Linked DNA regions of Homo sapiens: all the other regions are linked to region 1. Evidence: promoter capture Hi-C in 16 types of primary human blood cells and fetal thymus (Javierre and others, 2016). All regions are on one chromosome and are shown on one strand. Each heading gives the region's core, a stretch centred on a gene start or on the middle of the fragment in contact. The rest is flanking DNA. Distances are from core to core; before and after follow the strand shown. Region 1 holds the start of SEC62 (SEC62 preprotein translocation factor). Region 2 has its middle 11 kb from the start of PHC3. Region 3 has its middle 14 kb from the start of ACTRT3. Region 4 holds the start of MYNN (myoneurin). Region 5 overlaps LRRC34 (leucine rich repeat containing 34). Region 6 overlaps PHC3 (polyhomeotic homolog 3). Region 7 overlaps LRRIQ4 (leucine rich repeats and IQ motif containing 4).

The links. The method cuts DNA at HindIII sites, captures the fragments that hold promoters and counts their contacts. A CHiCAGO score of 5 or more calls a contact.
Region 2: a contact is called between a fragment that was not itself captured here and the fragment with the promoter of SEC62 in region 1, in 4 of 17 cell types (neutrophils, total CD4 T cells, fetal thymus and 1 more). The highest score is 6.5, in neutrophils.
Region 3: a contact is called between a fragment that was not itself captured here and the fragment with the promoter of SEC62 in region 1, in 5 of 17 cell types (total CD8 T cells, naive CD8 T cells, total B cells and 2 more). The highest score is 7.4, in total CD8 T cells.
Region 4: a contact is called between the fragment with the promoter of MYNN here and the fragment with the promoter of SEC62 in region 1, in 11 of 17 cell types (naive B cells, total B cells, total CD8 T cells and 8 more). The highest score is 13.5, in naive B cells.
Region 5: a contact is called between a fragment that was not itself captured here and the fragment with the promoter of SEC62 in region 1, in 4 of 17 cell types (naive B cells, total B cells, naive CD8 T cells and 1 more). The highest score is 13.3, in naive B cells.
Region 6: a fragment that was not itself captured here is called in contact with the fragment with the promoter of SEC62 in region 1 in 1 of 17 cell types (total B cells); the score reaches 5.7 in total B cells.
Region 7: a contact is called between a fragment that was not itself captured here and the fragment with the promoter of SEC62 in region 1, in 3 of 17 cell types (total B cells, naive B cells and monocytes). The highest score is 11.7, in total B cells.

What each region holds. Positions count from the first base shown.
Region 1 is chr3:169,964,358-169,968,484 of GRCh38, reverse strand. It overlaps SEC62 (SEC62 preprotein translocation factor), which reads right to left and starts at 1,678. Exons shown (of 8, transcript NM_003262.4): 1 at 1,627-1,678. The coding sequence starts at 1,662. It also overlaps the pseudogene FHL1P1. RefSeq lists enhancers at 1-3, 1,560-1,999. The HindIII fragment of the contact is 8,040 bases long and covers 1,018-4,127 here.
Region 2 is chr3:170,190,364-170,194,490 of GRCh38, reverse strand. No RefSeq gene overlaps it. Among named protein-coding and RNA genes, the nearest start is that of PHC3, 11 kb to the right of the region's middle. The HindIII fragment of the contact is 3,214 bases long and covers 54-3,267 here.
Region 3 is chr3:169,753,639-169,757,765 of GRCh38, reverse strand. No RefSeq gene overlaps it. Among named protein-coding and RNA genes, the nearest start is that of ACTRT3, 14 kb to the left of the region's middle. The HindIII fragment of the contact is 5,302 bases long and covers 1-4,127 here.
Region 4 is chr3:169,771,572-169,775,698 of GRCh38, reverse strand. It overlaps MYNN (myoneurin), which reads right to left and starts at 2,303. Exons shown (of 8, transcript NM_018657.5): 1 at 2,237-2,303; 2 at 1,138-1,434. The coding sequence starts at 1,403. TRV-AAC1-1 (tRNA-Val (anticodon AAC) 1-1) reads right to left here and starts at 3,469; the gene lies at 3,397-3,469. RefSeq lists enhancers at 2,204-2,498, 2,137-2,640, 2,214-2,763, 3,654-3,753. The HindIII fragment of the contact is 7,916 bases long and covers 1-3,640 here.
Region 5 is chr3:169,791,551-169,795,677 of GRCh38, reverse strand. LRRC34 (leucine rich repeat containing 34) reads left to right here. Exons shown (of 11, transcript NM_001172779.2): 10 at 67-193; 11 at 1,840-2,675. The coding sequence ends at 2,043. Among named protein-coding and RNA genes, the nearest start is that of LRRIQ4, 19 kb to the left of the region's middle. RefSeq lists a cis regulatory region at 1,321 and an enhancer at 1,249-1,393. The HindIII fragment of the contact is 5,168 bases long and covers 1-4,127 here.
Region 6 is chr3:170,106,153-170,110,279 of GRCh38, reverse strand. PHC3 (polyhomeotic homolog 3) reads left to right here. Exons shown (of 15, transcript NM_024947.4): 12 at 3,334-3,448. All of the region lies in intron 2 of LOC105374209 (a long non-coding RNA gene), which reads right to left. Among named protein-coding and RNA genes, the nearest start is that of GPR160, 70 kb to the right of the region's middle. The HindIII fragment of the contact is 627 bases long and covers 1,452-2,078 here.
Region 7 is chr3:169,828,787-169,832,913 of GRCh38, reverse strand. It overlaps LRRIQ4 (leucine rich repeats and IQ motif containing 4), which reads right to left. Exons shown (of 6, transcript NM_001080460.3): 3 at 3,982-4,127; 4 at 2,284-2,422. Among named protein-coding and RNA genes, the nearest start is that of LRRC34, 18 kb to the right of the region's middle. The HindIII fragment of the contact is 8,323 bases long and covers 1-4,127 here.

The sequences.
Region 1 (4,127 bases), core at 429-2,928:
GCTCAAAGTTACTCAGCCAATAATTGGTGGAGGTGGGGTACAAACAGGCAGTTTGGCTCAAGTTTTAGCTCTCTGCCACTGTCACATTACTCCACAGCCTCTGTTTAATATAAGATCACAACTAAATAAGAGCAGCTATTCAAAAGGTGAATTATATAGCCCTTACAACAATATTAAAGAGCAACTGGAATTGTAAAACAATGTGTATTGAAGGGCATAAAATTGTACTGTCAAGTGTAAATCTAAGGAGTTCTGTAAGTACAAATCTGACAGACAATTTCAATATACAATCTAATAAAATACTGTATACCCACGTCAGAGGAATAACACTAACTCTTGAAAGATTAAGAACAGTATAATTAGAAACTTCTACTGATCTTAAGACCTAGTCTTATCTGTCTGAACTCGAAATCTGCCTCTTTCTAATTCCCTTCTGCACCCTGTTCGGAACTACTTTATTTCTGCCAAATTCCAAAATTCCAAATTTACTGATCATGTGTGTCTTTTTCACAGCACTTAAAAAGTTTACAGAAGAATTTTAACTTGCATAGCTCAAAACATCTGTATTGTACGCCAATAAATCGATAAACTTAAAAAAAAAAAGAAGGGATAAAATGGAAGAAAGAAAAAATCATTCTAAGCAATGAAATAGTAAGGAACAGAAAGGCAATGATGAATGTAACAATTTATGATTATAGTAACAATTTACTACATGTGATCAATTTGAGGGCTTATGAAGGTTTCTCAGCACATCAGCTGATGAGACGACTAATAAATATCCTGAGTCCAAGATGTTCTACATAATTAATCCTCTTGGCAAAGAACAAGAACCAGGGAAAATCGCAAGGAAGAAATGCACAAATGACACGCATGTGGAATTAGGGGGAGATGTTATGTACGTTACTACGAGGATGACACACTGGCATGTGAAAGGTTTCTGGGCTCCACCAGCTCGTTGCAGCACCAACGAGGTTGTGGTTGTTTACACCACGTCGCCCGGAAAAAAGCCGGCAAGCTTCAAGTGGACTATTAAGTTAATAATATTGAAGGGAAAGAAGGGCAACGCAACTGAACATCTGGATGAGCAGATCCCTGCCTAGGCCCCGAGGCAGCTGACCAAGTCCAGATCATTCCCCCTTACGGTCTATGCGCACAAAGAACCAGCTGCTTTAGGTCAGTCCGCCGCCTCCTGCTACCCCTATTACCGTGGCCTTAATTTCAGGCCAGCTAAGGCCAGAGGATGGGGTGAAGGGAGGGGAGGAGCCCCGGGAAGGGTCAGCGTCTGCGCCCCAGGGGAGGCTGACCTTCCAGCTCAGGCCCGGGACAGCGCGACCACAGGAACTCCAGGCCCACAGCCGCGCCTCCGCAGCCGGATTCTGAGCGCGGCGCCTCCTTCCTTCCCCTGCTGCTCCACCACCACCTCCGTCTCTGTCTCCGCCGTCGCCAACACCGCCCCCCCTCAGGCCCCTCACAACGCGCAGCCTGCAGCCAGCTGCCTCGCGGCGGAACCCCACCCCACCCCACCCCACCTCGCCCTTGCTTTCGCTCGCCCTTTTAGGGGGCTTTCCCCGCCCCTTCCACTATCCAGCGCGCCGAAGCCCCCTGCCCAGAGCTCGGCTTTGCTACCTGGATCCGCTTCTTGTGTCTCCTGCGTTCCGCCATGTTGGCCGCTCCGCCCGGTTCCCTCTGACGTGGAGCGAGGAGGGGGCGGTGGAAACCTCGCGAGAACGCGCCCCGAGGCCCGTTATGTAATCCGCCGGCTGGCGCCCCTGGAATGGGGAGGTCGGCCGCCTGGCGGGGCCAGCGGTCCTTAGCGGTGCCTTCTCTCCCCTCTTCCCTCCGCTCCTGCTGTGCGGGAACTGGAGAATCGTTAGGACGTGGAGGAAGCAGAGAAGTGGATCAGAGAACAGGAGGGCTGGGAAGAGTCCTGGTTTCTCAATCCTGACTGAGCATCTGAATCACCTGAGAAGCTACTAAAATGCAGATTCCCCGACCCCATCCCCTTAGAGTCAGAGTCTGTGCATTTAGGGTGCGGCCTTTCTCAGAGGGATCGACTGAGACCTACTGAACCCTAGAAGTCTTTACCTGAGGCAGTTCCTGCAATGTACTGTATATTTCATGACATTCCATGTAAAAGATGACAAGACCGAGACCGTTGAGTGACAGAGATAAGAACTGACTTATCTAAGGCTCCACAGGTGGTAGATGGCAGAGCCGAGACCTGAGCCAATTATCTTTTCTCCTGCACTGTGCGGGGTAATACAGCTCGTTTAAAACAAGCTGGAGTCTCCATTCCGTTTTCCGCGTTGCTTCTCACAACTCACTGTTAGAATCCAGAAGTAAGAGAACCCGGGGAAGCGTAAGGAAGATGAATAGGACAAAGATTCTAAGAAGGTGGGAAGGAAGAAGGCTGCAGTCTATTTCAAGTCTGGTGAATTTCAATCACTGTAGCCTTTATTGTTATTTTAGAGCCACCTAGACCAAAAGAGAAGGAGCTCAAATTGCTGGTAAGTGCTTAGATAGAAATTCCCTTGACTGACTTTATAGAGATCTTTAAAGCGTTTTTAATTGTAGAAAATTGGGAAAATTCAGAATAGAAAGATGTTCTTTTTTTTTTGATGCTGAGTTTCGCTCTATATTGCCCAAGCTGGAGTGCAGTGGCGCAGTCTCGGCTCACTGCATCACCGAACTCCTCGTCTCAACTGATCTCCCTCCTCAGCCTCCTGAGTAGCTGGAACTACAGGCATGAGCCACCACACCTGGCTAATTTTTACTTTTTTTGTGTGGAGATGGAGTTTCCTTATGTTGCCCGGGCGGGTCTTGAACTCCTGGGCTCAAAACGATCCACCTGTCTCTGTCTCCTGAGTAACTGGAACTACAGGCGTGAGCCACTGTGACCGTTCAGTTTATTTTCTTATAGTATTCTGACTTTGTGTGTGTGTGTGCATGTGTGTTTGTATTTATATTTTTTCCTGTTTCCCAAATTGAGATCATATGCAATAAGGCAGCTGCTTTTTTCACTTAATGTTAGGTTGTAAGCGTTTATTATACCATTAAAATTTTTTTCCAGGTTTCCCATATTATATATCTAACCTAAGAGCAATTAAATATGTAAGTAAGGCAAATTGCAGCATCTTGATGCCTAATTTTTTAATAAAGTAAGATTGCTGAATTTTTTTTTTTTTTTTGGACTATGCAGTTCTGGTCTCAGGAGTCATTTAATTCCTTTCTCCTCTATAATCTATAATTTGGGTGTGTGTATAGTCAGGGATGGGGTGAGAAAGAAGTAATTATTCTTGCCAATTAACCCAAAACATAATATAGAATATGAAATGTCTTTATTTCCTTCAATCCCTCTACCCACCCAGAATGATGAATCTGTTTTGTGCTGTTTTATGTGGACATAAACACTGGACTATTTTATAGGAGACCTGGTCTATAAATGAAAATATTATTGCATTCAGTAGGTATTGAGTGCCTACTAGATAGATGTCAAATGTTAGGTTAGGACTATGGTGGGGAATAAAAATCCTTTATAGACAATGACTCATCCTCAAGTTACTGCCTTACTATTTTCTTCATCAGCAGAGCTTTAATTTAGTGTCCTCTTGTTCTGTCATTCACTCCTTAGATTACAACAATTTGGTTTCTACCTCCACCATCCAGTAACAATTATTTTGTCAAACCCAATACCTTCTCTCAGCTGGCATCTTACTCAGTATTTGACAATATTGACTGTTCTTCTTGACTTCTTTTCCTTCTTTGGCATGTATATCAACTTCTTTCTGATTTCTCGTTGACTTCTCTCCTTTTACCCAATTCTCACATGTTCCTGGCCACCGTTTTTATATGTTCACCTTCCTCTTGTCTCTTCTATTTGTGCATTCTGTTTACAGATTAATTCCAAAATACTGCATTCATGTTTAATTCCAGATTTCTTCTGGATGTTTCCACTGGATGTCCAACTAAAAATCACCATTTCCCCAGCAAAACCTGCCCCTTTTACTGTAAAAATCTAATAACTACATCGTTGTTCACTCAATTACTCATGCTAGAAACCTTGGATGCATCCCAACCATGCCTTTCTGCCAGTCAGTCACCAATCCTGTTGATTCTACAGCTGAGAT
Region 2 (4,127 bases), core at 411-2,910, 230 kb before region 1:
TTCAATTTGTGATCTTTCAGACTTTTTGATGTAGGCATTTAGTGCTATAAGCTTTCCTCTTAGCACTGCTTTTGCTTAACCCAGAGGGCTTGATAACTTAGTATCACTGTTATCATTAACCTTAGAGAATTTTTAAAATTCAATTTTGATTTTATTGTTACCCCAAAAATCATTCAGGAGCAGATTGTTTAATTTCCATGTATTTGTGTGGTTCTGAGGGTTCCTTTTGTAGTTGATTTCTAGTTTTATTCCACTGTGGTCTGAGAAGATACTTGATAAAATTTCAGTTTTTTAAAAATTTACTGAGACTTATTTTGTGGCCTATCATATGATCTGTCTTGGAAAATGTTCCACGTGCTGAAGAGAAGAATGTTTATCCTGCAGTTCTCTGGTAGAATGTTCTGTAAATATCCGTTAGGTCCATTTGTTCTAGAGTGTAGTTTTAAATCCATTTTTTTCTTTGCCGACTTTCTGTCTTGATGATCTGTCTAATGCTGCGAGTGGAGTGTTGAAGTGCCCCACTATCATTGTGTTGCTGTCTATCTCATTTCTTAGGTCCAGTAGTAAATGTTTTATGAATCTTAGAGCTCCAGTATTGGTACATATGAATTTAGGATTGTAATATCTTCTTGTTGGATTGATCCTTTTATCATTATATAATTATCTTCTTTGTCCTTTTTTTTTTTTTTTTTACTGTTGTTGCTATTTACTTATTTATTTATTGAGACAGGGTCTGGCTTTATTGCTCAGGCAGGAGTAGAGTGGGATGATCACAGCTCACTGCAGCCTGAACCTACGACACACAAGTGATTGTCCCACTTCAGCCTCCTCATTAGCTGGGATTGCAGGCACACACCACCACACCAGGCTAATTTTTAAATTTTTTCATAGAGACAGGGTCTTGCTGTGTTGCCTAGGCTGGTCTTGAACTCCTGGGTTCAAGGGATCCTCCTGCCTCAGCCTCCCAAAGGGCTGAGATTGCAGGTGTGAACTGCCACACCTGGCTGTTGTTGCTTTAAAGTCTATCTTATCTGATAGAAGAATAGCTACTCCTGCTTGCTTTGGGTTTCCATTTGCATGGAATATCTTTATCCACTCCTTTACCTTGAGTTTATCTGAATCTTTATGTGTTATATAAGTCCCTTGAAGACAACAGATATTTGGTTTGCAATTTTTAGACCCATTCTGCCAATCTGTATCTTTTAAGTGAAGCATTTAGGCTGTTTACATTCAACATTAATATTGAGATTTGAGGCTGGGTATGGTGGTGGCTCACACCTATAATGCTAGCACTTTGGGAAGCTGAGGTGGAAGAATTACTTGAGCCCAGGAATTCCAGAGCAGCCTGGGCAACATGGCGAAACCCCATCTCTACAAAAAATACACACACACACACACACACACACACACACACACACAAACTTAACTGGGTGTGATGGTGCACACCTATAGTCCCAGCTACTCAGGAGGCTGAGGTGGGAAGCCCACTTGAGCCCAGGAGGTGGAGGTTACAGTGAGCCAAGATTGTACCACTGCACTCCAGCCCAGGTGACAGAGCAAGACCCTGTCCCCTCCCTGCAAAAAACAAAAAAACCCAAAAAGGCCATGCCTGCAATCCCAGCACTTTGGGAGGCTGAGGCGGGCAGATCACGAGGTCAAGAGATGGAGACCATCCTGGCCAACATGGGGAAACCCCGTCTCCACTAAAAATACAAAAATTAGCTGAGCATGGTGGCAGGCACCTGTAATCCAAGCTACTCGGGAGGCTGAGGCAGAAAATTGCTTGAACCAGGGAGTCAGAGGTTGCGGTAAGCCGAGATTGTGCCAATGTACTCTAGCCTGGCGCCAGAGTGAGACTCCATCTCAAAAAAAAAAAGAGAGATGTGAGGTACTGTTCCAGTCATCATGTTATTTGTTACCTAGATACTTTGTTTTATTCACTGTGTTATTGTTTTATATGCCCCATGAGTTTTATGCCATCAAGAGGTTCTACTCTAGTGCATATCAGCCTTTTGTTTCAGGATTTAGAACAGCTTTTAGCATTTCTTGTTGGGCTGGTCTGGTAGTGACAAGTTCCCTAAGCATTTGTTTGTCTGAAAATGATTTTATTTCTCCTTTATTTATGAAACTTAGTTTTGCTACATACAAAATCGTTGGCTAGGTTGGGCGTGGTGGCTCATGCCTGTAATCCTAGCACTTTGGGAGGCCAAGATGGGAGATGACTTGAGCTCAGGAGTTCAAGAGCAGCCTGGGCAGCATGGTGAAGCCCCATCTGTACAAAAAATACAAAAATTAGCCATGTGTGGTGGGATGCACTGAAGTGGGAGGGTCACCTGAGCCCAGGGAGGTTGAGGTTGCAGTGAGCCATGATCGTGCCATTCCACTCCAGCCTGGGCAAGAGAGTGAGACCCTGCCTTAAAAAAAAATTCTTAATGGGCCGGGCTTGGTGGCCCATGCCTGTAATCCCAGCACTTTGGGAGGCCGAGGTGGGTGGATCACAAGGTCAGGAGATCGAGAACATCCTGGCTAATACGGTGAAACCCCGTCTCTACTAAAAATACAAATATTAGCTGGGTGTGGTGGCGGGTGCCTGTAGTCCCAGTTACTGGGGAGGCTGAGGCAGGAGAATGGCGTGAACCCAGGAGGTGGAGCTTGCAGTGAGCCGAGATGGTGCCACTGCACTCCAGCCTGGGTGACAAAGCAAGACTCCCTCTCAAAAAAAAATTCTTGCTGGGCGTGGTGGCTCACGCCTGTAATCCCAACACTTTGGGAGGCTGAGGTGGGTGGATCATGAGGTCAGGAGTTCGAGACCAGTCTGGTCAACATAGTGAAATCCCGCCTCTACTAAAAATACAAAATTAGCAGGGCATGGTGGTGCATGCCTGTAATCCCAGCTACTTTTGAGGCTGAGGCAAGATAATCACATGAACCCAGGAGGCAGAGGTTGCAGTGAGCCGAGATCGTGCCACTGTACTCCAGCCTGGGCGACAGAGCGAGACTCTGTCTAAAATAATAATAATAATAATAATAATTCTTGGCTGACTGTTACTCAGTTTAAGGAGGCTGAAGATAGGATCCCAATCCCTTCTGGCTTGTAAGGTTTCTGCTGAGGCCCTTGAATAATTCTACAATTACAACAATAAGAGGTCTTTAGAATGCTTATTCTGGGCTGGGTGTAGGGGCTCATGTTTGTAATGCCAGCACTTTTGGAGGCCAAAAAACCGAGTTAACAAAAAAAAAGATTTGACATGACACTGATATAAAGCTTTATATTTTTAATATTTATTTACTTATTTTTGAGATAGTAGGGTCTTGCTCTTTCGTCCGGGCTTGAGTGCAATGGCACGATCATGGCTCCCTACAACCTTGAATTTCTGGGTTTGAATGATCCTCCCACCTCAGCCTTCTGAGTAGCTGGGACTACTGTGAGCCACCTCACCTGGCCAAAAATTTTTATTTTACTTATTTATTTTTGAGACAGAATCTCGCACTGTCATCCGGCTGGAGTGCAATGGCATGATCTTGGCTCACTGCAACCTTTGCCTCCCGGGTTCACGCGATTCTCCTGCCTCAGCCTCCTGAGTAGCTGGGATTACAGGCGCACACCACCACACCCGGCTAATTTTTTGTATTTTTAGTAGAGATGGGGTTTCACTCTGTTGGCCAGACTGGTCTCGAACTCCTGATCTCGTGATCCACCCGCCTCGACCTGCCAAAGTGCTGGGATTACAGGCATGAGCCACTGTGCCTGGCCAAAATTTTTATTTTAATACATTAGAAGTATACAAGCAAAAATCTATTCTCAGTTACAGAAGCCCAATATTTTAAAATATAGCATATGCAAATTAAAGAAATGTATAATGCTAACTTTCAAAACTAGGGATTGCCTCATAATTAAAGAATATGTCCTTTGGAAATAGGATAGAAGGATTATTTTGCTTTAGTTTAGCATAATAATATGTGGCAAAACAACAAAAAGTGAACAATAACAGCTACACTTATTGAGCATTTTTAATGTTCTATTTATATACATTATTTCATTTTTTGTTTAATTTCACAATAACTTTGTGGTAAATATTATTCTCATTTTTTAGATTAGCAAAGTGGGGATTAGAGAGGTTAAGGAG
Region 3 (4,127 bases), core at 433-2,932, 210 kb after region 1:
AAATGCTAAGTAATCTAATTAATAATGCTTTCTAATTTTTTCAGTTACAAAATTAATGTGACAATATCATAAAAAAAGGTGAGAAATAGAGGGACTACAGATGTGCACCGCCAGCCTAATTTTTAAAATAATTTTTTTGAGAGTCAGGAGCTTGCTATATTGCCCAGGCTGGTCTTGAACTCTTGGCCTCAAGTGATCCTCCCACTTTGGCTTCATTTCTACTACCTTAATCTAGTTCACTATCTTTTTTTTTTTTTTTTTTTTTTTTTGGAGAGAGAGTCTTGTTCTGTTGCCCAGGCTGGAGTGCAATGGTGTGATTTTGGCTTACTGCAACCTCCACCTCCCAGGTTCAAGTGATTCTCCTGCCTCAGCCTCCCAAGGAACTGGGATTACAGGCACGTGCCACAACGCCCAGCAATTTTTGTATTTTTAGTAGAGATGGGGTTTCACCACGTTGGCCAGGCTGGTCTTGAACTCCTGACCTCAGGTGATCCACCTGCCTTGGCCTCCCAAAGTGCTGGGATTACAGGTGTTAGCCACTGCCCCAGCCCAGTTCACCATCTTCTACAAAGACCTGACAGGTCTTTCTACTTCTTATCTTGCCTCACACCCATTACCAATTCATTCTTCACAACGGAACTAGAGTGATCTTATTAAAAGGCTAACTGAGCCATGTTTTTTCTCTTCACAACACTTTAGTGACTTCATGTTGCACTTGGAATAAAATCCAAAATTCTTATCAAGGCTTTGTATAATCTGGCCCCCTGCTTACCCCTCTGTGTCCCCACCCAAATCTCAACTTGAATTGTATCGCCCAGAATTCCTATGTGTTTTGGGAGAGACCCAGGGGGAGGTAATTGAATCATGTGGGCCAGTCTTTCCCATGCTATTCTCGTGATAGTGAATAAGTCTCACGAGATCTGATGGGTTTATCAGGGGTTTCCACTTTTGCTTCTTCTCTCATTTTCTCTTGCTGCCGCCATGTAAGAAGTGACTTTTGCCTCCCACCATGATTCTGAGTCATCCACAGCCAGGTGGAACTGTAAGTCCAATAAAATCCCTTTTTCTTCCCAGTCTCGGGTATGTCTTTACCAGCAGTGTGAAAACAAACTAATACACCCTCTTCTTTTCTTGCACTGTGCTTCAGCCACACCAGCCTCCTTTGTACCAAACTCTCATCCTGGGTTCTCTGCTTAAATTGCACTTGTAGTTCCTGGCCCCTTCTCTCCTCCTCAAGTCTTAACTTAGATATCACCTCCTCAGAATCCTCTCTGACCCCCTTTTGAAGCAGGTTACCCCTCCTCTTATGATCTTCTGTTGATTACCTTTATAACATGTTTTCCTAATTTGCAATAAATTATTTGCTTATCTGTGTTCTTCACTGGGTTATAAGGATAGGGGCAGAACCCAAGTCATTGAGTTCATTGACAGATCCCAGGTGCCTAGTACATAACAGGTGCTCAATAATTGTTTGTTGAATGCATGATGGAGTGCTGTTGGGGCAGAGAACAGACCAGCTAATTGTAACTATGATTTCACCAGCACAGAGGCAAATGCTAAGTAGATATCTGTAATTAATAGTGCTTTCTAATGTTTTTCAGTTACAAAATTAAAATTTAGGTCATTATTTGGTACATTTCTTTCCAGTCTCTCTTTGTACCTGATGTATATATTTTATACCTGTCTCTTTTTATACCTGATATATATATTTTAGACAATTATATGTCAAATTCTGCTTTTTTATTTAGTAATAAATTATAAATATTATTCCATGTTATTACAGAGCCTTCAGAACCATTATTTAATATTGTTGCCTAATGTTCCATTTAATGGATGTATCATAATCTATGTAACACTTCACCTACAGATGAATATTTAACTTGTTTTCAATTTTTTTACTGCTATCGTGAATAACTATGCACAAATTTTTTTATGTTTTTAGATTGTTCCTTTACTTAATTACTAAGGGTGCATCACTAACCCAAAGGGTAGTATTTTGTTTGAAGGAGAATTGTCCAGACTTGTATAGAACCTCTGGGTAATCTACCTATGTTACTTTCTCTTCTGGAATTTCCCAAAATAGAATTTATCTTGATCACTATGTATATCTGGTTGTCAACAGGACTAGATCTGGCCACAGCTGCAAACCTTGAGTAGCTATGCAGATTGAATCATTCAATCGTTTCCAGAGTCCTTCTACTACTAAAATAAAGGACACATTATATCTTCTCTGTCTTATCTTTCCTCATCTTCTTTCCTGCCTTGCTTTCCCTGCCAAAAGTTTTGATAAAGCAGGAGGTAAAGATGGCAGGGAGAGAGATAATGGCTAAAAACACAGAATCTGTTTCTCAGAGTTGTGTGTGTGTGTGTGTAGTATTAAGTCACGGGGGTCAAGGGTATCAATGCAGAGGCTGAATACATACATAGTGGTGCCTCTCCTGCATCACACCCTCCTCCTGCATTCAGTTGCAGCCATGCATCATAGGTAGGATGGATTGACTCTTGCCTGTATCCAAGGATGGTTCTAATCCCCTCTCTTGCCATCATGATTGGTTCTGGGATGGCTTCATCAGAACAAAGTGCTGAACTTCAGTTTAATGGCTGAGTGAAGTAAGAGTTTTCTCCCCTTTAATGGGAATGAAGACGTTAGTAACTAGTGTTGCTCCTATCAGTCACTTGCAACTAAGAGGGAGGCCAGTTTGAGGACAGAGTCAACTCACAAAGAAGGGCAAAGCCCAGGGAAACACAGAGAAAGAGAGGTGGAGCTCTGCCTTTGGACTTTCCAAAATGTGTGAGCTTGCCCTGCCTTTCGACTTTTCAAATACATGAGCTGATGAATCACCTTGATTGTTTTAGCCAGTTAGCGTCAGGGGTTTTGTTGCTTCACTCAAAAGTACCTTAACTGATGCAGGAAAATTGGCATGACTGCTATATGATTGCTATCTTACCAAATAATTGTATTGTGGCACTGTCCTAGAAGAGAGGTTAGCGTGGTTTCTGTCCTAGAAGGAAATGTTCTCTACAACACAGGAGGCATGCCTCAGAGACTTCTGGGACCAGCTCTTCTCCCAATTTGTACCCCTCTTCCCTGGATACAATGACAGATGGCATTGTAAAGACAGGACATGCAGCTTTCAGAGGCTATATTTGCAAGTAAATTTTCTCCTATTTGAGACCCTTTGCAACTACCAAATACCATGGACATGGTTTGTGATTATTTGTAATATTAAATAGGAAAGGCACAGGGGCTGTCATTCTGGGGCAGAACAAATCTTGTTTACAGCCCTGTGCTATTCGGGGATGTAGGCCCCAAAACTAGGAAGCTGGGGGCCAGGCGCAGTGGCTCACGCCTATAATCCTAGCACTTTGGGAGGCCGAGGTGGGTAGATTACTTGAGGTCAGGAGTTCGAGACCAGCCTGGCCAACATGGTGAAACCCTGTTTCTACTAAAAATACAAAAAAATTAGCCAGGCATGGTGGCACATGCATGTAGTCCCAGCTGCTTGGGAGGCTGAGGCAGGAGAATCGCTTGAACCCAGGAGGTGGGGGTTGCAGTGAGGCAATTACACCACACTGCACTCTGGCCTGGGCAACAGAGAGAGACTTTGTCTCAAAAAAAAAAAGGAAATTGGGACACAGAGCGTGCTCGGAATATTTATTCTCAGAGGTGAAAGACTTTTTCTTTTTTGTGTATGTGTCCAATGTGTAGCTTTTCAATAATGAGATATACAATAATAAAAACTCACAGTTCTCTCACCTTTCTCCATCTTCCACTCCCACTTTTCCTTTTCTCAGTAGAAGCTCTCACCTTATTTGGTTGCTTGTTTATTACAGACAGATTCATGTGATTGATGTATAACTGATAGGAGAATATCTATCTAGTTAAATATTTGTCTTAAAGTTAATCTTTAAAAAGTGACTGTTAAAAAGATAATTAAGTAAATGTTATTTGATAGCTGTCCAAAGTGTCATTCCTGTTATGGAATAAATCTTTCTTTGGTATTCATTGCAACAACCTGACTATAGCAAAAATAGCACTGCTGTTGATAATCCTTCTGAGTGTTTGACTTCCACATTCAAAGGTCTCCTCTCTCTATCAGACAGAATGGTGTTCCTTAACCAGAAAG
Region 4 (4,127 bases), core at 1,054-3,553, 190 kb after region 1:
TTTTCTATTTTTTCTCCGAGAAATGTGGAATTAAAGGGGGAGGAGAGGGTAAAGAAGAAAAATAAAGAAATTAACGTTCAGTGGGAAGTGAATAAGGATCAAGTAAAACCTTATTTAGCCTCAAGGTAGTTATTACCATCTCATTTTGACAGATGGGGAAACTGAGGCCCAGAGAGATTGCATCATGCTCAAGGAGACATAGCGACTGACAGGAAAGATCTAATTCCAAAGCCTATAATCTTCCTGTGTCAGAAGATTATGAACAGTCTATTCATGTTCACTTTCATAAGAGAGACAGAAATAAGACAGGGGTAATTTAATCAGTTTCTCTTTGCTTTTATTCCCTCCACCTTTTCCCCTACAATCTGTAAATGTATTGATATTAATCTAATTATATGGTTCGTTATACAGGGGAGACACACAGTGCCTACATTATCAGATTCCTCAGAACCCACTTCTTGTTAATGCAGTGACATCAGTAAGCATCTTAGAGAATCATTCTAGCATCTCTGACCTTACTTCAGTATTAGTACTGGTAGGTTAATAGAGATAACAGGAGTCAGAATGAGGGAGACAGAAGACCAGAGGAATTCAAGGACCAAAAAGCAATGGGAAACTGGAAGTAACTTAGAATTTTTTGTTTGCAGCCTGGCCAGCATGGTGAAACCCTGTCTCTACCAAAAAATACAAAAATTAGCCAGGTGTGGTAGTGCACACCTGTAGTCCCAGTTACTAGGGAGGCTGAGGTGGGAGAATCGCTTGAACCCGGGAGGCAGAGGTTGCAGTGAGCCGAGATTGCCCCACTGCACTCCAGCCTGGGTGACGGTGAGCCCGTCTCAAAAATAAAATAAAATAAATTCATTGTGTTTAATGTTCAAGTTTACATAAGTGAAATCACAGGCTTTGTTTCAGTAAATAAACGTGTCAGAAATCTTACTGTTTATTATCTGTGCTTATGAAAAATATTGCCTGCTCATCCTAAATCAGTGATACTGATTTCTTTATAAAAACAAACATTGTGTGCATAAATAGGTGAAGAATTTGAGTTCAGAGAATGAATGGAAAAAATACAAATCTACTTTTGCTGTGAAGACTACTGACTAGCTTTTATAACTGAAAATAAAATGTGTACTTTACCTGTCAAGATTTAAAGTTCCTGTGTATATAAACTCCAACAGTTTCTGAAATCCATCAGCCTTCACCTGACTCTGATCAAGAAAGACATTGTTCTCAGAAGTGCTTCTGTAGATCGCACCAAAATACTCACTAAAGGAGGCCAGCACATTCCTATGAGCTTTAAACTGGAATTCCCCAATCACTATGGTACAGTCACAGAGAAAACCTGCTTCCCGCTGTTTGTTCAGTCTCTCTAAAAGGTGCTCACAGTGGTGCGAATACTGCATTTTGATATCAGAATGGAATTTTACCCTTGATCTAAAAGACAAAAAGAAACAGTAAATCAGTAACCGTAAGTTCTCATCAACGTTCAGTGAGGGAAGGGACAGAGGACATAACTTAAACAATTTTAGCCCCCTTGAAAATCCTTATCAAACATACATGGTTAAGAATGAAGGGATGAGTGCCTTTCTATCTTTGGTTACCTTGATCAACTAACACAATCCTTTGGACACATCAATAAGTGACGGTGAATGGCAACACTTCTACCACCTGCAAAAAGCACAGCAAAACCTGACGCTTTCACATCTGTTGAACCCTCAGATTTTCAAGCTCAGTAGACATACTTATGTTACAAAAAAATTTTTTAAACCACTAAGACATGATCTCTTGGGACAGATAGGGGCAGAACAGTACGAGTTTTTAAAAACTGCTCTCAAGTCACCAAAACCTGTTAGTTTCCCCAGTGCAGTTTCTCCAAAACGAGAGGTGGCTGCCCAGAAAGCCGGGAATGCGCCCGGCCATGGCTTGCTGTCAAAGGTTCTATCACTCGCGCTAAGGAGGCCACACCTTCTCCCTTCCCACTCTCTACGCGAGGCGGCATCCGAGAGTGACAACCAAAGCCAGTCCCTCCTCGGCTTCTGCCGCCCTGCCCTCTGCCCAGCTCCCACTCCCGCGAATTTCCACAGCAGAGGTTGTGGCCCAGGCCACCCCGGGGCTGCCTAGCCCAAGCCTTCCACCTGCGCCCCGACCCGTGCTGGAACTCCAAGGAGCCTGCCCTCTGATGGCCCAGGCTCTAGAGAGACCGGGATGGCGGGCTGGGGGTGAAGTAGGAACTCACCGATAGCAACCCAAGGGGGGAACACAGTTTCTTCACTCTGTCTCCGCCATCTTGGGAGGACGTCACCGAGCCACGCTCCGCCCCTCCCTTCCTTCCACGGTGGCGTCACGTCCGGCTCTGTCTTCCCGTGGCAGTGCGGGAGGTTCTGGGGCCATGGGGGTCCGGCGCCGGCCAGGGCGGTACAGGATGTACCACAGAGACCCACTCCCCAGCATGCCAGGGGTCCCCCGAAGCAGCAGGCGTCATGGATACGAGAGCTGAGGGCTCGCTAGCTCGCAGCGCTCCGCCTGTCTTCCTCATCGCGAGCATTCTGGTGCCGGCAGTCAGCGTCTGGCGCTCTGCCGGGGCTCTGCGCCGAGGCCCGGCAGCACAGCACCGCGGGCCTCTCTCCTGAAGCCAGCTGCGCACTGCGTGCGGGGGCTTGTAGTTGCTTGTCTTCTCCCATCATCCTCCCCTTCCTCGGGGCCCCACCGGTGGAAACTGCTGCATGTGTACTCGGATCTCTGCCATAGGGGATTTTTTAGCTGAGACTTGGCACCCCTTTCCCGCTTACGTACCTGAAAACTCTTGGCACCCCCTGGTTTTTTTGTGCCCCAGCCAACTGTAGCTCAGCTTCCAAGATGCCCTTACCTGGTGACAGAAGTCTGGGATGCACGAAAGCGGAGCAGCTGGGCACAGTGGGCATGCGCAACATTAGAGGAAGGTGGGCTTTATACCGGAAAAGGTTTTCCTGCGTCTGGACCAGAAGATTTTTAATACGATTATTTACAGCCACTTCAGACGAAAAACCAAGTGATATAATACAAAAATGCTCAGGAGGCGACAGGACTAACCACTTTTACACTTTGATCTTTCCTTCTAGGCTGTACATTATTTTTTCAGTGTTAGCTGGTGAGTCAAATTCATTTTTTAAAACCCGGGACACATGTTCCACGTGGCAAGGCTTCCATAAAAACATTTGGTGAACGAATAAAGTAACAAAAACTTACAGTTCAGACTCTCAAATTGCTATCATGTCTTTTGAAGGACCGGCATACATTAAGCTAAGGCTTCCCTCAGAAAAAAAAACAAAACAAACAACAAAAGAAAACAAAGCGTGATCTCACGCTTTCTTCCAAGCGAAGGAAAAAAAAAAAAAAAAAAAAAGGGATTTTTTAGTGTGTTTCCGCCCGGTTTCGAACCGGGGACCTTTCGCGTGTTAGGCGAACGTGATAACCACTACACTACGGAAACCCCACTTTGGAGAGGGTTTTGTAAAGTCCTTGATATGTAAGTGTCAATTCGCAATTCTCAAGTGATTATTATCAAATTGAGAGGAATGAATATAATGTATTTAAAGAAAAAAACAGAAAAGGAAAAATAGCCTATGCCCAATTGAACAGAGCTGAAACCATTTCAAAAGCTTGAATCTGCACGCACTTTCTTCCAAAGTGCCCGGGTACCGCAGTAGAAACCAGGCACTCCCGAGTTGCCCTTCCTTTGGGTGGCCTTTTTTTTTTTTGTCTCCCTGGAAAGGCGTTTTATTACACATCCTTTCCGCAGGTTGAGCTGCTCAGAGTCCGGGGCGAAGCAGGGGGCTTTCGTTATTCAGCCGCGAAAAAGCCATCCTTTCAGCTTCTGGTGGAAGGACGTGTAAAATTACTTTTGAATTTCCTCTTTTTGCTTCCGAAGACCAAGCAGAAGTTCTAAATTGACTGCTTGTTTTCAAATTCTCTACAGATGTATGCAGAATCAGACACCAAGATGCGTTTATTGACATGCAATGTACTTTCAAATTTTTCCAAACTTGAATTTCATATGACCTGATAAACTTCACTTTTCCTGCAAAAAGACAGGCACGTCCTTCAGCCTAAAAATCAAGAGTAGCGAATGAGGCTTGCAGATTACACCA
Region 5 (4,127 bases), core at 413-2,912, 170 kb after region 1:
AAGAAAGTGTTTGTAATAAATGTTGCTAATTTTTGTATTCTTTCCTTGTGGAATTATTGGTTTCAGGTTGTCAGTAGTCAGCAACAACATAGAGGGAGAAGGACTTGTTGCACTTTCACAATCAATGAAAACAAATCTCACTTTCTCTCATATCTACATTTGGGGAAACAAATTTGATGAGGCTACGTGTATAGTAAGTTTTAAGTTTTTTCCTTCACTGAAGGCTTTTTCTGGGATCATCTCTGTAACATCAGATATTATTTACAGGTGCCTCAGAAATGGTTACACAGTGAGACACTGCAGTTTTGATAATTAACATAAGTCTTAAAATTAACTACTAGAGAGTTTGGTGGTTCAAATAACCAAAGATATTAAAACTATGTATTAGTATTACACATCACTGAATGACACAGTTCTAATTCCTCTAAGGTTAAGAAAAATCATAATTATTGATCAGATGTAGCAAAATTTCTGATCTGCTCCCTAATAATTATACCAAAATATGGAATGGGAGAGATAGAGTACAAGCTATCAAAATATTTGGCATGTTGCTCACATAAATACAGACAGCCTTTGATACTACTTTCAAAACAGAAATAATGGTAACAGTTTTCATTTGGAAAGAACGAGGGGGAAAAAGTAGATGTTAAAATTCTCAAAATTTGCAAAAGGACTAACAAAAATTCCACCACTAAAAAGAGTAATAAAACATAGAGTGTTGTCTAAACCACCCTCCCAAAAAAACCAACCCTTACTTTTAGAAAAACATCCATAATTCTTTAGGTTCTACACATCAGTAGCTGAATAAGTTGAGTCTGGAACTGGAACTAATGATGAATGACAAGCTAAAGCAAAAACCAACTTGACTTTTAAATCTTTTAATGTCTAAATTTCCATCTTTCTCCATATTGCCAACCTTACTGACAAACCAGTTCAACGTATTTGTATGACTCTGTTACATAGATACTAAGGATCGTGGCTCATGCCTGTAATCCCAGCACTTTGGGAGGCTAAGGCGGGGGGATCACGAGGTCAAGAGATTGAGACCATCCTGGCCAACATGGTGAAACCCCATCTCTACTAAAAGTACAAAAATTAGCTGGGTGTGGTGGTGCGCTGGGCCTGTAGTCCCAGCTATTCGGGAGGCTGAGGCAGGAGAATCTCTTGAACCCAGGAGGCAGGGGTTGCAGTGAGCCGAGATCGTGCCACTGCACTCCAGCTTGGCGACAGAGCAAGACTCTGTCTCAAAAAAAAAAAAAAAGTATAAAAATTCTACAATGAAGAAATAATTAATAGGTCCGCATCCAATACTATGGAATTGTCTGTTTTAGCCTAAATCTGTAGATTAGATTCAGGGGGGTCATGAACTCTATATAATTGTATGTCCAAATCTGGGATTCCCTTAATTTTTCTGAGGAATGGGTAACTAGCTATCAGCAGATTTTTGAGAATGTATACAATAGGCCTCCTACCGAGCCCCCCTACCTATTCCAATTTATGAACATCTGTGGGACTTGAAAATTTTGACCATAGGAGCTTTGGTCCACAAAATTGGTAGTATAGAAAATCAACTCTAGGAGTCACAAAATGACAAAACATGTCTAATACATTAAAAGTTAGAAATAAGTTTTGCAATATTATAATTTCATTCTGTGTAATTAAATGAATAAAAATCTATTTACAATACCTGGAAAATATTAAAATTCAGCAATGTTATTCAGAATATTTTATTTTAAACTACAAATTAGCACAGCTAATTTGAATATTTAAATTTCCGTAAGCACTGTAAATTGAATACATTTTTTCTTAATGATATAGTTTTTTTCCTAAAAATCCTAGGCATATTCAGACTTAATTCAAATGGGTTGTCTAAAACCAGACAATACAGATGTGGAGCCATTTGTGGTAGATGGACGTGTATATCTTGCAGAAGTCTCCAATGGCCTTAAAAAGCATTATTATTGGACATCAACTTATGGAGAATCTTATGACCACTCATCTAATGCAGGTTTTGCTCTTGTTCCAGTAGGTCAACAGCCATGAAAAAGTAGCTGTAAAATAATTTTCATACACTTGTCTTATTGTTTCACAGAGATTAATATTCTATAGCCTATTTTCTTTTATAAATTAAAACAAGTTACTTTTTTCAAATGTGTAAAAGATAATGACTGTATTAAACTTTGTATAACTGTCTATTGTGAAAAACTGAGTAGGGTAATTTTTTAAAAGAAATTTTACAATATAGAGACTAAAATTCTAACCCTGGAGAAAGAGACCAAGGAACTAGACTAAATTTCTTTTTATAATGAAAATATAACCAAGTAGTGAAATAGCGTACAAGTAAAGGTCATTGTAGGTATCTAACTGAAAGTTATTAAGTAGTATTAATAAAAAGGTTTGTGGTAGAAAATTACCAGTGACTTTCAAAGGGTTTCAAAGTTCAGAAGTTGAAAAAGTATTCTACCTATCCTATTTACGTGTTACAGACAGGTGTTACTAACAATTTCATAAATACAGGCAAATATATATAAACATATACATACCCCTTTCCCAACAAGCCAGTGCTGCCAGCTCTCCCACTCTCCTCTCATAACCACTATCCTGACTTCTAACCCCACAGAGTAGTTTTGCCTGTTCTTGACCTTTATATAAATGGAAGCATACAGTATACACTCTCTTTGTGTCTGGCTTCTTTTGTTCAACATTATATTAGTATGATTCATTTATGTTGTTTCATGTAGCAGTAGTCTGTTCACTTTTCATTGCTTTGTAGTATTCCTCACATGCTGGGTAGTAGGATGTCTACCAGATTCTGGAAAGAGTTTGATTTCCCAGGCTACTGTCTCTTCCTGTGTGCTATAGAAGAGACCCACAAGTTCCCATATTCCCCCAAAGGGAGATTCAGAAGATGGCTGAAGGAGAAGCAAGTAGGCTTACCTTGAGCTTACAGTGGGGTGCAGGTGGTAAACCTGTAACCTGACCTACACTGCTGCTTGAGGCAGAGTTGCAGGTGATAGGGCCTCAGAGAGTTTTCCGCATCCAAAAGAACTGAGATGAAGTCAGTTCAGCCAAGGACAACTGGACTCTGACCAGACTAGGAAAGACTTGTTACTTATTTTATAAGCTGCTGCCTGCCACAACAGAGGTCAGTATAATTAACCCAGAGAATGGAAGGGCTCCACAAAGACTCTGTCTACCCTGATGCCCCTGTCTTGTATGATATGTCTGGACACCATTTTAGAAAGACAAAAGGCAGAAATAAAACAGCATTTCTCCAAAAGATTAAGCATTACCTTAAAATCCCTTAAGATATAAATTCTATCCCCTTTATATCAGACTAGGTTTTAAACTGGCTAAAACTAAAAGTTAATTTTTTCCAGACTTACCACTGGGTATGGGCTCAAGAGGAAGGACATATAAGTTCCATAGGAAAACTCTCATTTTCTCTGCACATCTAAATTATAAAGAGCAAATCTGCAATCATATTGTATGTATTGTTTCATTTTTCTCTTAGCAATCATCCTTTAAGACCCAGTTCAAAGACTGCTTCACCTTACACTGTTGCAGATCATATTATACTCATCATTTTACAATGTTTCAAATTTGAAAGCAAAAAATAAAGCAGTATGTGCTTTTCAGATATTTGGGAAAATAATGATCATTTGTCTTAAACGTTCTCCTTTTCAAACTTTTCTATAGTATTATCATTCATCATGTCTTCTTAATATCTACTACAACCATATCCATCTGGTTTCTGCTCCCACTATTATACTGTACCTGCCTTCTAAAGGATCATCATGCTCCAATTATCCAGCCCAATGTTGTCTCAGATTTACATCCTACTTCTCTGTACCATGTGACTGCTACAAAGCCACTTTTGCCTCTGAAAAATGTGTGCCACCTTGGTTTTCTTCCTTTCTGCTATCACTTTCCATCTTCTTTTCCGTCTTTGCTTATCCTTTAAATGAATTTTCCCCCAAATTCTGTCCTCATCTTTTTTTCTCCTATACCATCTCCCAGGGCTGCCTTAATCATTTCTATAAATTATTAGCTGCAAGATCTGTATCTCTAGTTTTAACATCTCCTGGTTCAGGCCCCATTTCCAACCACTACCAGAAATTTCCTAC
Region 6 (4,127 bases), core at 516-3,015, 140 kb before region 1:
GTTAGGTGGATGGTTTGAAGGTGGGTGGATAGTACTGAAGATTTTTAGGAAGGTGTTACGAATAAAAGAGTGTTTTTGGAGACTTTGATGGCCGTCTGTAGGATGTATGTATAAATTTTGCATGTAATTGACACCTGTAGTCATGGCAGGAAGAGGAAGGAAAGGACTGATGTTCTCAAAGGAAAGGACTGATGTTATCATATCAGCAGGATATGATATCAGAGTAAGGAAAGGAAGATGTAGAGATAATATATTTCATAGGGGAGAAATGTTTACATAAAATGTGCTAAAATTTTAAATACTTTCTAGTTTTAATTTCCCAAGGTAATTTTATAATTTTCATGTTTCTGTTACTATGTACTTCAGTGTTTATAGGAAGTACTATAGTGTAAAATGGTGAGGTCACTTATTTAGTGGCTTTGGTTTTAGTAGTATATATAGTTTCAACATAAAAAACCTCTGGTAAGCATATAAAGGATAAACTGTGGTTCTCTTTAGACTGGTTCTATAATGAGAGTCTCCAACCAGTAGATTGTGATTCATCAAAGTAGCTTATGGTCTTCCTTGGTATATCTTCACACTGATTATGATTTCCATCTCATTGCCTCTTTTTGCTGCTGTCCTCATGTGATTTCAGGTCTTTGGGGGAAATAAAAAATAACTTCCCCTCATGCCAGAAAATGGGGGATCTAGATTAGGAAGCAGGTTTGGCCACTTCAGTAGAGATCCAGAATAATATTTGATTAAAGAAGATAGGAATTTAATTTTCTCTGACATAACCCAAAGATCAGTCCAGGGCTTATGTGGTAGTTCCTTAGTATTGGGCACTCAAGCTCCAGGGTCTTATGTCTCTGTCATCTGTAGAATGTTACTTTTATTTCCAAGATGGCTGATCTTCATGATCACATTCTAACCAATGAGATGGGGGAAAGAGCACCATCTGGAATTTGTGAGCATTTACAGTCATATGCCATTGGTTACAAATCAGCCACACCTAGGGCAGAAACTTGTTTTTAATCTGGGTGGCCATGTTCGTAGGGTTTTGTTACTATGGGAGAAAAGCAAAGAGTGGATGCTGGAGAATTACCAGCTGTCTCTGCCATAGAATCCCATTTTTATTAGCTAAATCAGCAGTTTTAAAAAAGTGTTTTGGCAGTTTTCTAATTCATAAATGTAAAAGAGTGACCTTGGTAATATTACCAAATTTGTTAAAAATCTGACTGAACATTAGAACAAGAATTTTTGAATCTGTTAATGTCCCTCGCTTCTTTATGAGAAATAAAACTTATACTACTCTTATTTTTGTTCGGTTAACTGTAAACCATTTCTGTTTGGTATTTCCTCTCTGTCACCAACAAAAACATTTCCTTCTCCTTCATAAGGTATTCTGACTTAATATCAGGTGTTGGACATTGCTATGTTAATTAACAAAAGATCTTTGAAACAAAGCTTTTAGCATATCCTGTTCCTGGAATAACCCTGAGGAATGGACTCTTTCAGGGCTGGAACTAATGGCAGTGGTGGTTGAGTGAGAAGTTCTGTCTCCCTATAGGCTTCTCAGTCAGATCAGATTATAGTAAGATCAGATTATAAGCATGACAAAATAAAAACAGTACTTCTAGGAATTATGTTTTCAGGTCTCAGGAATGTGTTGGTGGATCTCCTGACTGGGCCGTTGGAAGGTCATTGGAAGGGGCAATTTTTAATTTACTTGTTTTGAGACTGTTTCTTCCTCATTGCTACTAAATTGATGACTTTTGCTTATGAAGGTAGTCCTGAGAATTTCCTTAAACTGGTCACGTGTCAGTTCATGATTTCATTATTCAGGATAATGTATTTGGATGCCCCACCAATGTCAAATATTAATTCACAGTTTGTTTTTTTAGTAGTTCTTGCTACTTCACTTAATTTAGCACTTTGCCATCTGCTTCCCCAGTAAAACTGAGGTAATGTGAGTACCTGAGCTCACTGAGTACATGCCACCCATGTCTACATTTCTGAGTCCTTGTATTTATCTTAGTCTTTATTAAATGAGTAACATAGAAAGAGCACACATATGGAGTTCACAGCTAAAAGCTTTAGTTAGTAAAATGCTTTTCAGTAAAATGCTTTTGTTGCTTTTTTTAATATGACTTGGCAGAGGAATTATGATGATGCAAGAAAATGGCAAAATGTGGTTGATTTAAGAATTTAACAAGTTTTACCAAAGTATTTCTTGAGCGCTATTACATGTCATACTACCCTTTTAGTTCTTATGTGGAAAATAGGAAATGGAACTATCACTTTTAATGCCTACTACCTTTTGGGCACACATATAATTGCCACTTCAATTCTTTGGGAAATGTATTATAAACCCCATTTTACAGATGAGAAAATTGTGGGTCATGAAGATTTAGTTGTTTGCTTATGGGTGACTCCTGCCGAGTACCCGGGGATTTAGCATGGAAGGGTCTTTGCGCTTTGTGTTACTGCCTGAAGATAGTTACATATGTAGGGTGGAAGAAGGACATTCTAACTTAGTAGGGAGCACCCATTAAGTTAAAGAAAAGCATGATGAAAAAAAGCATCAGTGGTTGGGAATTATGAAACTGATTTTTAAGCCTAGTTTTTATTTTAATGCAATATAACTAAAAGGAACTGTTTTATAATTAGATATATGCATCTTTTTAAAGAATTTTATGTATGTATATATATGTATGAATGAGATGGGGTCTTGCTATGCTGCCCACACTGGTCTCAAACTCCTTGTCTCAAACGATTCTTCTGCCTCAGCCTCCTGATATATGCATCTTTATATATTTTATCATATACTGCAGATCTTCGAGAGAGTTAATTATTTTGCATGCTCCTGTAAAATCAGACATATCACAATTTCACCATTTTGAAGCCATCTTTATTCTCTCCAGTTAGAATTAAGAGTTCCCTGCTATGTATCTCCACAGTGCAATTTATCAAAATTCATATCCCACCCTCAGCTTTTTGAAAGTGTTCCTCCTGGAGGATAATGCCTATGTTATTCATCTTCATTTCTCTCCCAGTGTTTATAAATAATTTTTTTTTACATTTTAGATGGATTGTAAGCAAGATGAACCTTTTAAAATGTTATGCTTATTTATATAGAAAGAAACTCCTTGTAATTTTTATGCAGAAGCAAGAGGGAATTAGTAGCAGTGGTTGTGTTTTGAAGGCTTTTGCCCTGCCAGAGTGGCTGTGGATTGAAAAGTTAAAGGGCCATTGGTTTGCTAGCAGTATCCAACCAAAGTATAGACTTAAAGAAAATTTGCATAATTAAATTTTTGGAACCTTTTTTTCCTTTGTTTCCTTCTTTTTTAGAGACATTAGAAGAAATGGACAGTGAGTTGCTCAAGTGTGAATTCTGTGGGAAAATGGGATATGCTAATGAATTTTTGCGGTCAAAACGATTCTGCACTATGTCATGTGCCAAAAGGTATTTCTGTGCTCTTGAATTTCCCAAAGGACAGATAAATAGCCATTGCAACTAAACCAAAAAACCCTTGAATAGCTTACCAAGGATAACTATAGATATTTTAATATGTAATATTATAGAAGAAACCTAGATATTATTATATAGAAGAATAATACAAATAGGCAGTATCTGGAGCCACCTAGTATTTAGTTACTAGATTTTGCTTTGCGAAAATTACATATTCATAATACTTAAAATCAATTGTACAGTATAATCTAATATTAAAGTAGTAATCTCCTGATGGTAAGAATATATTTAGGAGAATCCCTTCAATGAAGTCATCACGATTTCATCATGATTATATAATACTAGTCCTTAAAGTATCAAAAACAGTATTTGTTTTATCAGCTGTTTTATCATTATTGAAATACTTTGATTTACTTTGTGTTGTTTTAAAATGTTTTCATTTGTTTGAATCATCCTATTTATTTTAGATTTCTTATGGGACAGCTGTAGTATAAATTCCCCACACTGTTAACATTATCAGACAGCAAAATACTTGTCTTTTCTGAATTAGTATTTTCAATAGTCATTATTTCAGATAAGTAGTATTTTTTTGTTTGTTCGTTTGTTTGTTTTTGGATATAGAGTCTTACTCTATAGCCCAGGCTGGAGTGCAGTGGTGCCGTCTCGGCTCACT
Region 7 (4,127 bases), core at 700-3,199, 140 kb after region 1:
CATAGGTGAGGGATCCAATTCTGCATTTGCAAAGGGAATGAGAGGAAGGATGCACAAGACCCGACAAAACTTTTTCTACCATCTAATAAAAGTTCTAGCTCTATGTTTGCTCCTTCTCAAAATGAAGAGAACAGAATTCAGTCTCCAGATATTCCAAATGTTTTGTTTGTTTAGAGCAACAGTTTTTAGCTGAAACTGACAGCCCACTGGGAAAAATCACTCTCAGACCCTGCTGTTCCTAAGGTCAGCAGACTATTGATTTTTTTTTTTTTTTTTTTTTTTGAGACAGAGTCTCACTTTGTTGCCCAGGCTGGAGTACAGTGGCATGATCTGAGCTCACTACAACCTCTGCCTCCCAGGTTGAAGCGATTCAAGTGCCTCAGCCTCCCAAGTAGCTGGGATTTCAGGTGCACGCCACCACACTTGGCTATTTTTTTTTTTTTTTTGAGACAGAGTCTAGCTCTGTCACCGAGGCTGGAGTGCAGTGGCGCCATCTCGGTTCAGTGCAGCCTCCGCCTCCCGGGTTCAAGTGATTCTCCTGCCTCATTCTCCTGAGTAGCTGGGATTACAGGCACCCACCACCAAGCCCAGCTAATTTTTGTATTTTTAGTAGAGATGGGGTTTCACTGTATTGGCTAGGCTGGTTTCGAACTCCTGACCTCATGATCTGCCTGCCTTGGCCTCCCAAAGTGCTGGAATTACAGGCGTGAGCCACCGCGCCTGGCCTACAACTTCTTTATAACAATTCAAAGTTGTTGAAGCCAGTGTCCATAAATATTAGAGACAGAAAAATAGAAAACACTGAAAAATTTTGAGAATATTTCACTCCTCCAGGGACCAAGGACAGGATAAAAATTTATGGTCAGGAGCATTACTAAGGATTACTGCATACAACCCCTTGTCTCCATTTTTTTTTTCTTTTTTTTTTTAAATTTTTTAACTTTTATTAAAACGGAGTCTTGCCCTGTTAACAGGCTAGAGTGCAGTGGTGCAATCTCAGCTCACTGCAACCTCTGCCTCCCGGATTCAAGCAATTCTCCTGCCTCAGCCTCCCAAGTAGCTGGGATTACAGGCACGTGCCATCACACTCAGCTAATTTTGTATTTTTAGTAGAGATGGGTTTTCACCATGTTGGCCAGGCTGGTTTGAACTCCTAACCTCAGGTGATCTGCCCTCCTCGGCGTCCCAAAGTGATGAGATTACAGGCGTGAGCACCGCGCCTGGCCTTGCCCCCAGTTTTTGAATGCCTTATGAGTAGGCATCAGCTTCCACTCTCTCCATTCTTTTTTCATTAAAGAATAACTATAGTTTGGGCCAGGCACGGTGGCTCACGCCTGTAATTCCAGCACTTTGGGAGGCCAAGGTGGGCAGATCACGAGGTCAGGAGATCAAGACCATCCTGGCTAACACAGTGAAACCCCGTCTCTACTAAAAAAAAAAAAAAAAAAAAAAAAAAAAAAAAAAAAAAAAAAATTAGCCGGGCGTGGTGGCGGGCGCCTGTAGTTCCAGCTACTCAGGAGGCTGAGGCAGAAGAATAGCGTGAACCCGGGAGGCAGAGTTTGCAGGGAGCCGAGATCACGCCACTGCACTCCAGCCTGAGCGACAGAGCGAGACTCTGTCTTAAAAAAAAAAAAAAAAAAAAAAAAAAAAAAGAATAGCCATAGTTTGAAAACATGTGCATAAGCCTAGGATTCAGAAAAAAAAAAAGAAACATTTAAAATCTGGTCCCAGTGGGTGCTCAGCAAAAGCATATTAAGTGGATGGATGAATGTACAGACAAAGAATGGCTTAGTGTAGTGGAAAATGTTTGGCTATTTAAGTAGGAATCATATATAGTTTTCCAGGTCAATTATGTAGCTCCAAGAAAGTCTCCTGCTAATTTCACCACTCTGGGCCAATACTTTTTCTTTTACTCAAGTGACTCCGTGACCTAGATGAAATTTACTGCAGGATCCCAACTCCAAATTCTGGCATGTAGTAAGTGTACAGTAAATTATTGTTGGTAGTGTAATAAATGTATGGGTAAATGCTAATTTTCTTAGCAGTCGCTATTTACCTTTCCATTTTAATAAATGACTTAACTGCCTTTGCAAGACTCTTAGCTATACTAATCAGGACACCTGGCCTCCCCCATGTCGCTAAGTGAGCCCTGCAAGGAAGTAATGGGATAGACTCAGTTCTCTGAACACTGAGATAGGTCTTTAGCAAAGCAAGGAAGCCATTTGCCATAGGAAATGCTGGCCACAAACTCTGCTAGGCTGTGAATCTACTAAGTTTCCTCACCTTGTGCTTGGCAAATGGCATCTGGAAGTTGCTTAAGCAAATTGTGCCGGCAATCAAGAACTTCTAGGTTAGGCATTGACCCCAAGGATACGGGCAGGTACTCCAGATGATTGTTCTCTATATATAGCTCTTTGAGACTCTGAAATAACATGAGTGTACCATAATAATATACCTTGATTAATTAATTATAATAACCAGAATCACCTGTGGGTGCTCATGCATTTTTTTTTTTTTTTTTTTTTTTTTTTTTTTTCACTTTCAGTGGGGAAATTACGCATTGAGTTAAGGGAAAAAGCATGTCTAAAGGACCATCATCAAGACCCAAAATTATTTTTGAGTAAATCCATTAGACTTAGTTTCCATTTATGCAGGGAAAAGAGACTACAGACATCTAGTGCTTATTTGTTTCACCAGAACTTTATGGAAAAATAATTTGAATAATTTAACTACATTTATCATTAACTCCTTTTTTAATAGCTAATTGTCTGTGGCAGTTGCTACAGAATGATAATTGCCTCAACTATCAACCCAATATTGCCTCAGTGAAAGTAGCCAAAATGCACAGGGAATGGATTTGAATGTATTCAAAATAACTATTTTCAACTTCACTGGGCAAAAATCTAATGTTTGTACTTCACCCTAAGATTGTGGCATGACAGGTACAAAGGAAAAGCTGATGAAAGGTGTTCTATGAACACAGGGCAAAGGAATGGAGAATTAGGAAGAGACACCCTGTGTCATAGTGAGAACTACCTATGCTGTGCATGGCATTGCATGACTGGGGTTATGTGGTGGCCCACGCCTACTTTATCATCATTAAGAGTGCAGCAGGTCAGACACGGTGGTTTATGCCTATAATCCCGGCACTTTGGGAGGCCGAGGCAGGTGGATCACCTGAGGTCAGGAGTTCGAGACCAGCCTGGCCAACATGGCAAAACCCCGTCTTTACTAAAAATACAAAATTAGCCAGGTGTGGTGGTGGGCGCCTATAATCCCAGCTATTTGGGAGGCTGAGGCAGGAGAATCGCTTGAACCCGGGAGGTGGAGGTTGCAGTGAGCCATTGCACTCCAGCCTGGGCAACAAGAGCGAAACTCTGTCAAAAAAAAAAGTGCAGCAACAGGAACATGAAAAAAAAAAAACAGTTCTTTAAAGGATGAATATATGAAGACACCCTACTATGGCTACTTTGAATGAAGTTATCCTGTTGCTTTGCAAGTATTCCTCACAGCCCTGCAGATCCAGGAAGCTGGTGCAACATGATTTCCCTTTTCCAATCAGGGAGAGAGGTCACACTTCCCCTTACAGGAAATCCTGGGCACCAAAATGTAGGCTCCCAGCATGTCACTTGTATGATACTCTTTAACTTCAAAATAGTCCAGTTTTCAGGGGGCTACTTATAAAAAGTGGAAATTAAATGGAAAGAGTTATGACTCAATTTCTGCAAATGAAACACACCAAATCACACAGTGGAAAGAAGTATGGCAGGACATATCCAACAGCAATCACAATGAAATGTTGAAGAGTTGTTCACGGACAGTGGAAACCTCAAAATGTAAAAATGATTGCTTGTCTGAAGCTGGAAATCTAGTATGGATGATTCTACATCCAGCCTGTGGAGACCTCATATTTTCTCAGTTTCAGCCAATTTAAGAGGCAGTGACAGGTGCTTCTTAGCCTGCTCATTTGGGGAGGCTTACCTGCAGTTTCCTAATGTGTTCTGGCACATAGGTAAGTTTGAATCCCTGGTCTTGCCCAATGTATAATTTCTCTAAAGACGCTAAAGAAAGGACTTCCTCCGGAAAGGAAAGGAACTCATTTCCTGTTAGTCCAAGTATCTTCAGTT